Regions from separate parts of the Homo sapiens genome. Here region 2 is linked to region 1. Evidence: promoter capture Hi-C in human tissues and cell types (Jung and others, 2019). All regions are on one chromosome and are shown on one strand. The core of a region is centred on a gene start or on the middle of the fragment in contact, and the rest is flanking DNA. Distances in the headings are between cores, read along the strand shown. Region 1 holds the start of HNRNPF (heterogeneous nuclear ribonucleoprotein F). Region 2 has its middle 69 kb from the start of LINC00839.

Region 1 (5,264 bases), core at 1,023-3,522:
TTTTAGTAGAGACAGGGTTTCACCATGTTGGCCAGGATGGTCTTGAACTCCTGACCTCAGGTAATCCGCCTGACTCGGCTTCCCAAAGTGCTAGGATTACAGGCGTGAGCCCTTTTGGTTTAATTTTCCTAATATTCGATTTAAATTGGCTACTTGAATTTTTCTCTCCAGAAACATCTTTCTACAGCATGAGCTGTGATGCAGTCACTGTATGACTTTTTTTTTTTTTTTGAGACAGAGTTTCGCTCTTGTTACCCAGGCTGGAGGGCAATGGTGCAATCTCGGCTCACTGCAACCATCACCTCCTGGATTCAAGCGATTCTCCTGCCTCAGCCTCCAGGGTAGATGGGACTACAGGTACGCGCCAACACGCCCGGCTAATTTTTTTTTGTATTTTTAGTAGAGACAGGGTTTCGCCATGTTGCCCAGGCTGGTCTCAAACGCCTAACCTCAGGTGATCCACCCACCTCGGCCTCCCAAAGTCTTGGGATTACAGGCGCGAGCCACCGCGCCCGGCCGGCCACAACTTCTTAAGAATACCTACCTATCTGATTTTCGCCCCTTTCCTATGATGCTGAATACCTATCTGATTTTTGCAGGAACTATTTTCTGTAATTTTGCCTCAAATTATGCAGTTTTCTCTTTGGACATTTTTACCTATTCTGACAGCTCCTGCTTTACTCTTTCCATTCTCTTTCTTGGAACTAGCTTTTTCTTTTAACAAACTCCTTCCTTCATCACAATCATCCCACTCATCATCTGACACTATTTTGAGCACTCCTTTACTTTCTCTGGTGATTTAAAAAATAACGTTCAGCCAGATGCGTGGCTCAATCCAGTAATCCCAACACTCTGGGAGGCGTAGGTGGGCGGATGGCTTGAGTCCAGGAGTTCCCGACCAGCCCGGGCAACACAGCGAAACCTCGCCTCTACAAAAAATACAAAATTTAGCCGAGAGTGGTGGTGCTACTCAGGAGGTTGAGGCAGGAGGATCGCTTGAGCCCAGGAGGTCGAGGCTGCAGTGAGCCGTGATTGTACCACTGCACTCCCGCCTGAATGACAGGGCGATACTCAGTCTGGAAATAATAACAATAGTAACAATGTTCAGCTTAACCTGTGATGAGTGCCTTGACATCATCTCTTCATGAAGAAGATCCACCAAAATAAAATGGTTACAATTATTAGCCCTACAATACATCAAAAAAAAAAAGAAAAGAAAGAAAATCTGTCCCTGGCTTAGCCATTAGCCACCAAATCTGTGTGTTCAGGTGCTCTGTGACTGAAAATCTTGCCCTCGACCTGGGTCTGAGTTACATTCTGAGGTTTGGGGGCTTCTCACACCACGGAATTTATCACCTGAGCAACTTCAACCTGACAAATCCCTCCTAACGCCCTGCTCTGAGACCCCTTTAGGCGGTCTCCGGAGTACTCAGTGTACCTTTTTTTTTTTTTTTTCTTTGAGACGTAGTCTCGCTCTGTCGCTAGGCTGGAGTGCAGTGGCGCGATCTCGGCTCACGCAAGCTCCGCCTCCCGGGTTCAAGCGATTCCCCTGCCTCAGCCACCCGAGTGGCTGGGACTACAAGCGCGCGCCACCACGCCTGGCTAATTTTTTTGTATTTTAGTAGGGGTTTCACTATGTTGGCCAGGATGGTCTCGATTTCCCGACCGCCTGATCCGTCCGCCTCGGCCTCCCAAAGTGGTGGGATTACAGGCGTGAGCCACCGCGCCCGGCCTTCAGTGTACTACTTTCCTTATTTTATTTTTTGAGACAGCGCCTCGCTCTGTCGCCCAGGCTGGACGCAATGGAGCAGTCACGGATCACTGCAGCCTCGACCTCCCGGGCTCAAGCGATTCTCCCGCCTTAGCCTCCCAAATTACTGGGACCACAGGCTTGCGCCACCACGCCCTGCCATCGGCTCTCATTTCCTTTTCCCATCCTAGTCTTCCATCAGGCGTCCTTTCGGCGCACATTTCAGTGTCCTGCGGGGCTCACCAGTGTCCTTCCTCCAGGGCCTCAGGGGCAGTCAGAGGGATCTTTCCCGCCGCTCCACTCCCTCCTCCTCCTCCCCCTCCCCCTATCCCCTCCCCTCCCCTCCCTTCTCCTCTCCAGAAACGTCCTCGCTTGTCCGCCTCCACCGCCTCCCCCGCCAGCCGTGTCGGCTCTGCTCCGCGCCCAGCCGGCCAACCGGCGGCTCAGCTCTGGCGCGTCACAATGCGCCGTCGCGGCCCCGCCCCCGGACGCCGGACGCAGAAACTCCGCCCTGCCGCGGTCCTTGCGTCCTTCCGGCTCCGTCGTGGAAGCAGGACTGCGCCGCGTCTTCCTCAAGGTGGGGTTCGGGGGGCCACCGAATCGCTGTCACGCCGGCAGGTAGCAGGGGGTGGGGACGCGGGCTCCTTGGGCTTCTGTTTCCTGGTGTCCAGGGCAAAGGGCTGAGCCGGGCAGTAGGGCCTAGTCGGGGCCTGGCTCGCCGGGAGCAGGAGGGCTTCCGGCAAAGCCGCGTGCGCTCGACGGGCAGGCGCTGAGGATTGGGGCCGGCAGCGCGCCTGACCCCGCCCCTCGTAGGCTCCGCCCCGTGCTCGCAGGCGGGGGTTTCCATGGTGATGGTCAACAAGCCTCAACTGCCTCTGCTACAACTGCCAAGTTCCCCGCGTCCCACCCTCCTCTAGGTGCTCCAAGGGACCACCGGGGTGCCTGATATGAGAGCGGGAGTGTAGAGACTCGGAGGCCGAGGTGAGGGGCGGCCGAAGTCTCCGAGGTCGAAGGCCGCACACCCGGGACCTAGCGGGGACCGGGTCCCCCTGGGGGTGGGGACGGGGGGTGGGATTTGAGATTAGGGAGACTATCCGAAGTCCAGGGCCCCGTACCCGGACTACCTGGGGACTGGGCCTATTGGGGTGGGGATCGTTGGGCTGGGGCTGGGATTTGGGATCAGGGAAGAGCGATCTGAGTTTAAGCGCCGCAAACCTGGGACCGAGCGAGGACTGCACATAATGAGGGGCCGTGGCGCTGAGATTTGGGTGACGGGATTCGAGGTCGAGGGGCCCGTACGTGGGACCGGCAAGAACTGGACCCACTGGGATCGGGAGACGCAGCGTCGGAGGTCGAGAGCCGCACGCCCAGACAGTGGTCCCACGCGGTGAGCACCGCGGGCTGAGATTTTGGAGTCAGGAAAGCGCGGGGAAGGCACGGACGGCCGGGTGCGTTAGTCCGGCCCCCTGGCGGGGAGCTGGCGACTGCCGGAGGGCTCTGAAAGTGAGAACAGGCCTGGCGCAGTGGGAGGCCCAGCCGGGAGGATCTCTTGAGCCCAGGAGTTCCCGACAAGCCTGGGCAACATAGACTGTCTCTACTGAAAAGTAAAGAAAAAAAAATTAGCCACGTGTGGTGGCGCGCGCCTGTTGTCCCAGCTACTCGGGAGGCTGAGGCGGGAGGGTCGCTTGCTCTGAGGTCGAGGCTGCAGTGACAGTGATTGTGCCACTGCATTCCAGCCGGGCGACGGAAATGAGACCTTGTCTCAAAAGAAGTAATAATAGTAATAATACCTGAGTAAAATGAAAGCCGCGCGCTCACGTGGCTGCAGGCGCCTGAGAGTTGCACAAGACTTCCTTGTGGGGAGTTGGCTCCGCCCTCCTCCCACGCCCGGTTCCCGTAGCCTTAGCTCTCGGCCCCGGGCCCTTTTTCCTCCTCGGCTGCGCCGCGTGTCCTCGGAGCGCGGTCCCTGTATTGGTCTCCTGCTCCTAGAGGTATCGTGTTTGTATTTGGGGTGAAAATCTGACTCGTGCGCGCTCTTCAGCTTAGTCGTCCTTTTTTTTTTCCTTTTGTTTGTTTGTATTAAGTATTTTCGTCGATTCCGCCCTGCTCGTAGGAAACTTGTGGACGGGGCCCGGCTCCTGCTGCGCCGGCTGCCCGGCTCCCCCAACCGCAGAGTCGTGGACCAGGGTTTTGAGGAGCAAGGCACCCGACTCGCCCTCCCCCCAAGGCCGCCCCGGGCGCGGGAACCCCTCCCCCTAGGCGCCTGGGACCCCCGCTCGGCTCCGCGTGTGTCCCGGCGGAGGGTGGAAGGAGAGCCGAGCTCGGCCATTGCCCGCGGGCGGCCCGGGGACGAGCTGACGCGCCTCTTTAGTTCTCGAAACTGCTCGCGGGCGCTGGGGGCTCGGGCCGGCCATCTGCGTGGCGGGACGCGAGGCGCGCGCTGGCGGCTGCGCGCGAAGGGCAACGGGCGGCGGCGGCGGCTTCCCGGAACCGCGCGGGGCGGGCCCTGCGCCGGGGTCAGGGCCACAGCCTCAGGCGGCAGGGAGTTCTGAAAGCGTAGTTTTCAGTCGTTCCGTCCCAAAAGTCATCTTAATTCTTCCAAAAATACACGCATATAATTCTTTCTACTTAGTTATATTTTTAAAAGTTAAATACGTGGTTGTCTCTGAATTCCTAGTAAGATGAAAATTTCTTGGGTTCTCCAGGTAGGTGAAAGATACCTTAAGTGCTATTCCTGCAAAGTGACTCGTTGCTCTCACAGAATTTATAAACTATAAAATAAGACATTACTACTTTAATGAATATTAAGAGAGAGATTGCTTTATTCCTAAGCAAGAAGATCTTTTCCCTTGTAGGTATTACATTCCGGTGTGCATTCTGTAGATTAGAGTCATTATCGGCCGGGCGAGGTGGCTCACGCCTGTAATCCCAGCATTTAGGGAGGCCGAGGTGTGGGAGGATCGCTTGGGCCCCAGAGACCTACCCCGTCTCTATAAAAAAATATGTATTATTTTTTGAGACAGGGTCTCACTTTGTTGCCCAGGCTGGAGTGCAATGGTGTGATCTCGGCTCGCTGCCGAGATCCTCCTGTGCTCAACGGATCCTCCCACCTCAGCCGCCGAGTATCTGGGACCACGGGCACTCTCCAGCACGCCCGGCAAATTTTTGTATTTTTTGTAGAGATGGGGTCTCCTTATGTTGCCCAGATTGATTTTCAAACTTTTGTGCTCAAGCGATTCTCACGCCTCTGCCTCCCAAAGTGCTGGGATTACAGGCGTGAGCCATCGTGCCCGGCCACTTTTTTGTAAACTGCCAAGTTTTCTGTTAAGGGTAGCGTTATAAAGCTTTATTCAGGTAAAAAATGGAATTTATTTAAGGGAAAAGACTGAGTAAATAGAAAGTTACTTCTCCCACGTGGCCAGAACCTTGGAAAGCCTGGAGGCAAATGAGAGCCCGGTGGGGGTAGATGCCTGCAGGGGCTGCAGAAATGTGACAGGCCCTTTCCTTGGAGGTG
Region 2 (5,264 bases), core at 868-3,367, 860 kb after region 1:
ATTCTATTTTTAATTCCTTGAGGAAACACCGACCTGTTTTCTACAGAAGGTGCACCATTTTACAGTCCCATCCTCAGTGTACAGGATTCTGATTTCTCCATATCCTTGCCAACACTCGTTATTTTCTTTTGTTGTTTTGATAGCAGCCATTGTAATGGGTGTATGGTAATTTTTCACTGTGGTTTTGATTTGTATTTCCCTAATGATCAGTGATGTTGAGCATATTTTCATAAGCTTGCTGACCATTTATATATCTTTAATGGAGAAATGTCTGTTCAAATCCTTTGTCCATCTTTGAATCAGGTTATTTTGTTTGTTTTGAGTTGTAGGGGTTCTTTATATATTTTTTATATTAATTCCTCATCAGATACATGAATTGCAAATATTTCCTCCTGTTGTGTTGGTTGTCTTTTCATTCAGTTAACTGTGTCCTTTGATGCACAATTTTTAAGTTTGATGTGGTCCAATTTATTTTTATTTCTGTTGCCTGTGGTTTTTGGTATTATATCCAAGAAAACATTGCCACACGAATCCATTCTCCTATGTGTTCTGCCATGAGTTTTGTACCTTTAGTTCTTAGATTTAGGTCTTTGATTCATTTTGAGTTAATTTTTTTGTTTTTGTTTTGTTTTGCATGTGGCTATCCAGTTTTACCAACACTATTTGTTAGAAAAATTGTCCTTTCCCTATTGACTGTTCTTGACAACTTTGTTGAAAATCATTTTACCATACATGCATGGGTTTTCAAGATTATTTTGGCTAGTTGAGATCCCTTGAAATTCTATGTAAACTTCAGGATGATTTATTTCTATTTCTGTTACTATGTCTTCTTTGTAGACTTAGTTTTTTTTTTTTTTTAATCAATATGTAGTGTTTTTCTCTTGTAACAATTTTTGATTTAAAGTCTCTTTTGTCTCAGTATAGCCACCCTGGCATTCTTTAGGTTACTATCCTCTTCTGTCATTTCAATTTCAACCTATTGTGTTGTGTGTTTGTATCTAAAGAGAGTGTCTTGTAGACAATATATACCTGGATCATATATTTTTATTTATTTTGCCAATTTATTTTTATTTTTATTATTTATTTTATTTTATTTTTTTTTTGAGACAGAGTCTTACTGCATCACCCAGGCTGGAGTGCAGTGGTGCGATCTTGACTCTCTGCAACCTCTGCCTCCAGCGTTCAAGCAGTTCTTCTGCCTCAGCCTCCCGAGTAGCTGGGATTACAGGTGTACACCACTACACCTGGCTAATTTTTGTATTTTTTTTTTTTTTTTAGTAGAGATGGGGTTTCACTGTATTGGTCAGGCTGGTCTCAAACTCCTGACCTCGTGATCCGCCCACCTCAGCCTCCCAAAGTGCTGGGATTACAGGTGTAAGCCACCATGCCCAGCCTATTTTGCCAATTTCTGTCTTTTAGTTGGGAGTTTAGTTTATTTACATTTAGAGTAAATTATAAACTGATAAAGGACTTATACCATTTTGCTATTTGTTTTCCATACGTATTACATCTTTTTTGTTTTCAGTTTTTCTGTGTATGCCTTCTTTTGTGTTTGTTTTTTTCTAATGTGCCATTTTAATTCCTTTTGTATTTGTTTGTAGTCATTATTTACCTAGTGTTAATACTTGGAATTGCAATTAGCATCTTGAATTTATAACAATCTAGCTTGCATTAATACTAACTAAGCCTTAATATTATATAAAAACTCTCCTCCTATACGGCTTTGTCCCTGTCCTTTGTCTTCTTATTGTCTCATTTTATGCCTTCATAAATAGCGTGCACATTACCATAGATTTATAATTATTGTTTTATGTATTTGTCTTTTAAATCATATAGAAAAAAGAGAGAACATAAAAGCCAAGAATACAATAAGACTGGCTTTTGCATTTACTTACAGTAGTTACTTTTACCATTTGAATTTTTTGTGTGTTTCGATTGGAGTTACTGTCTAATGTCCTTTTGTTTCAACCTTAAGGACTTCCTTTTGCATTTCTTGTAGGACAGATCTAGTACTAATAAATTCTCTCAGATTCTGTTGATCTAGGAATGTTTTAATTTCTCTTTCATTTTTGAAAGGCAGTTTTGCCAAATGTAGAATTTTTGATATATATTTTTTTTCTTTTGGCACTTGAAAGGTGCCATTATCCTACTGCCTCTGGCCTTCATGGTTCCTAATAAAAGTCTGGCTGTTAATCTTATTTCAGATCCTTTGTACATGGTTAGTCCCTTATCTCTTGCTACTTTTGAGATTCTTTGTCTTGTGACAATTTATTATTTCTCTCAGTTTGAAGTTCTTTGAGCTTATCCTAATTATAGTTTCTTGAGAGTCTTGGGCATAGAGATTCATGTCTTTCATCAGTTTAGAAGGTCTTCAGACATTATTTCTTCAGATATTTTTGGTTCCCTTTTCTCCTCTTCATTAGCAACTCTTGTTATTAACTTGTTGGTATGCTTGATGTTGTCTCATAGATCTCTTAGGCACTGTCCATTTTTCACCATTCTTTTTCTCTGCTCCACAGAATGAGTAATCTCCATCAGTGTCTTCAATTTTGCTGATTCTTTGTTCTCTTTGAGCTCCAATCTTTTATTAAATCCTTTGACTGATTTTAAAAAAATTTAGTTTTTGTACTTGTCAGCTCCAGACATTCCTAATTACATTTTTGTAATTTTGTTCTGTATATTAATATTTTATATTTGGCAGGGCATCGCTCACCTGCTTTCTGTTAGTTGTCTGGTTTCATTTAGCTTTTTGTGCACATTTAGAACAGTTGATTTAAATTCTTTATCTAGTAAGACCAATAACAAAGGTGTCTTTGAGGACAGGTTTTATTCATTTCTTTTTTCTGTGTGTCTGTGGGTCATATTATCTTCTTTGCATTCCTCATAATTTTTTATTGAAAACTGAACATTTTGAATATTAAAATGTGTTAATTCTAGAAATCAGATTCTTTTCCCCAGAATTTGTTGTTGCTGTTTATTTTGCATTGTTTGTTTATTTTGTGACTTTTCAAAACTATTTTTGTAAAGTTCTTTGTTGTACATGGTCACAGAAACCTCTGTTCCCTTAGTTTAGTGGTCAGTTTGTGATCTGACAGAGATTTCTTTAAATGCCCAAAGCCAAAACAAAACAAAAAACTATTCTGGTCTTTGCATATTTGCCCTGTTTTAGGGCGCTCTTGTAATGGTTTGCCAGGCCATTTACATCTCTGTGTAAAGCTTTACTTCCTGCTTACACTGAGCCTGAAGGTCAACCAGACTGAAAGCTTAGGTTCCTCTCAGGTTTTTTGTGAGCGTGCATATTGCCCTGGCCTTGCACATGACCTCAATTCCCTGGTTTATGCAGGAGCTTTTCAAACCCCTTATCCCCACCCCGGCCCCCATGTATTTCCTTCCCAGTTTTTCCACTCCCAGTTTTATCAGTCCATCTGCTGCTTTTCTCATCTGGCTGCTGAGGCCAGATAATTGCCTTTAAATGCTTTCAACTAGCACTTCCTGGAAGACTAGCCCTGAGAAAGTTCCAAGGCAGGCAAAACAAAGACAAGCCTGTGAGCCACTTCTTCAGAGAGCCCGCATAGACAGATCAAAACACACAACTACAGTTCTCTGAAAACAAAGTGCATACTGTCCACTTTGGCACAGGCATCAGCAAGCCACGCCAGAAATGTTCTGGGCTTACTAGGTTTTTAATTAGATTGGAGAATTCTGAAAAGCTTGATGCTGAGAGGGTTTTTTTTGTTTTTCCAGCTTAATTGTTGCTTTAGTTTGGGATGGAATTTTGGAATTACCTATTCCATTTTCAGCCTGCTTCCCACATCAATTTTTGAGTAATTACTCTGTGGCACAACAGATATGCCTGGCCCATCTTGTCCTTTTCCTGCACTACCTTTGCCATCAGCCATTTCTCCAAAGGACATTGTTCTTTCTAGTGGAGGATGGAATTTAAAAACCAAGATCTGGGTGCTCATTGCTAGAGGCTGTCACTGCCTCAGACCCTCTCAATTGACAGAGATAGGAAATACATGTATGTATGTGTACATACACATACACAGAAATACACATGTGTACACTTATTTTTGTATTGGTCTGTCTATACATATTTTTTAAACAATGAGTTTACATAGACATTTCCCAGTTTCAATCTTAACCCCATAGCCTTTCTGTTTTCCATCTTTGTAACTTCTTTCTCCAATAGTGAGAAACCAGGCTATATCATTATCCACAATATTTATTTGCTCCTTCTCCCTGTTTGTATCCAATCTTTTTTTTTTTTTTTTGAGATGGAGTTTCACTCTTGGTGCCCAGGCCAGAGTGCAATGGCATGATCTCAGCTCACTGCAACCTCCACCTTCTGGGTTCAAGCGATTCTCCTACCTCAGCCTCTGAAGTAGCTGGGATTAGAGGCATGTGCCACCATGACTGGATACTTTCGTATTTTTAGTAGAGACGGGGTTTCTCCATGTTGGTCAGGCTGTTCTCGAACTCCCAACCTTAGGTGATCTGCCCGCCTTGGCCTCCCAAAGTGTTGGGATTACAGGCATGAGCCACTGCGCCCAGCCTGTATCTAATCTCTTAAACCTGCCAGTGCTACCTGTCTCCTCAGCTCTGGTTTGATCCCTTAGATCACCATCTTCCTGGAATTATCCATACTTGCTATATTAAATATTCAAATCAGATTTGATGTATTAAAAAATTTTAGAAGTTAAAAGGGGCCATTTGACAAAGTCTTATTTTTGGAAAAACATTATTACTTTATGTAAGCTTATCAAAAATAAAATTTCTGCTTATTGGCAGCACAGTATCTAAACCTGTCTCTCCAGGTTGTGAAGCCACTACTTTGTCCATTAAGTTATAAGGACACTTATCTCATTCATGAAGGAAGGCAGAGCTTCCTAATCACCTCCTAAAGGCCATGCCTCTTCATACTATTGCAATGGTATTAGATTTCAACATATGAAGTTGTGAAGGGCACAAACATTCAGACCATAACACTTAAGTATTTTATTCTACTGGATACTATCATAAATGGGATTATTTTCTGAATTTCCTTTTGGATAGTTCATTGTTGGAGTTTTTTTTTTTACAGAAAACCTAATTGTTATGTGTTGATTTTGTACTCTGCAACTTCGCCGAAACCATTTGTTAGCTCATAGTTTTTTTGTGGATTATTTGCTAAATAATGTTATCTGCAAATAGAGTAGTTTTACTTCTGCCTTTCAATTTGAATGTCTTTTATTTCTTTTTCTTGCCTATTTGCTCTGGCTAGA

The links. The method cuts DNA at HindIII sites, captures the fragments that hold promoters and counts their contacts. A contact is called where the count stands out against the background at its distance.
Region 2: a fragment that was not itself captured here is called in contact with the fragment with the promoter of HNRNPF in region 1 in 1 of the 25 tissues and cell types used here (dorsolateral prefrontal cortex).

The regions. Positions count from the first base shown.
Region 1 is chr10:43,406,194-43,411,457 of GRCh38, reverse strand. It overlaps HNRNPF (heterogeneous nuclear ribonucleoprotein F), which reads left to right and starts at 2,272. Exons shown (of 4, transcript NM_001098204.2): 1 at 2,272-2,327. RefSeq lists silencers at 1,853-2,082, 2,533-2,652, 3,933-4,302 and enhancers at 2,373-2,432, 3,163-3,502, 2,942-3,545, 3,513-3,562, 3,703-3,762. The HindIII fragment of the contact is 13,159 bases long and covers 2,018-5,264 here.
Region 2 is chr10:42,542,245-42,547,508 of GRCh38, reverse strand. It overlaps the pseudogene ZNF37BP. Among named protein-coding and RNA genes, the nearest start is that of LINC00839, 69 kb to the right of the region's middle. The HindIII fragment of the contact is 4,235 bases long and covers 1-4,234 here.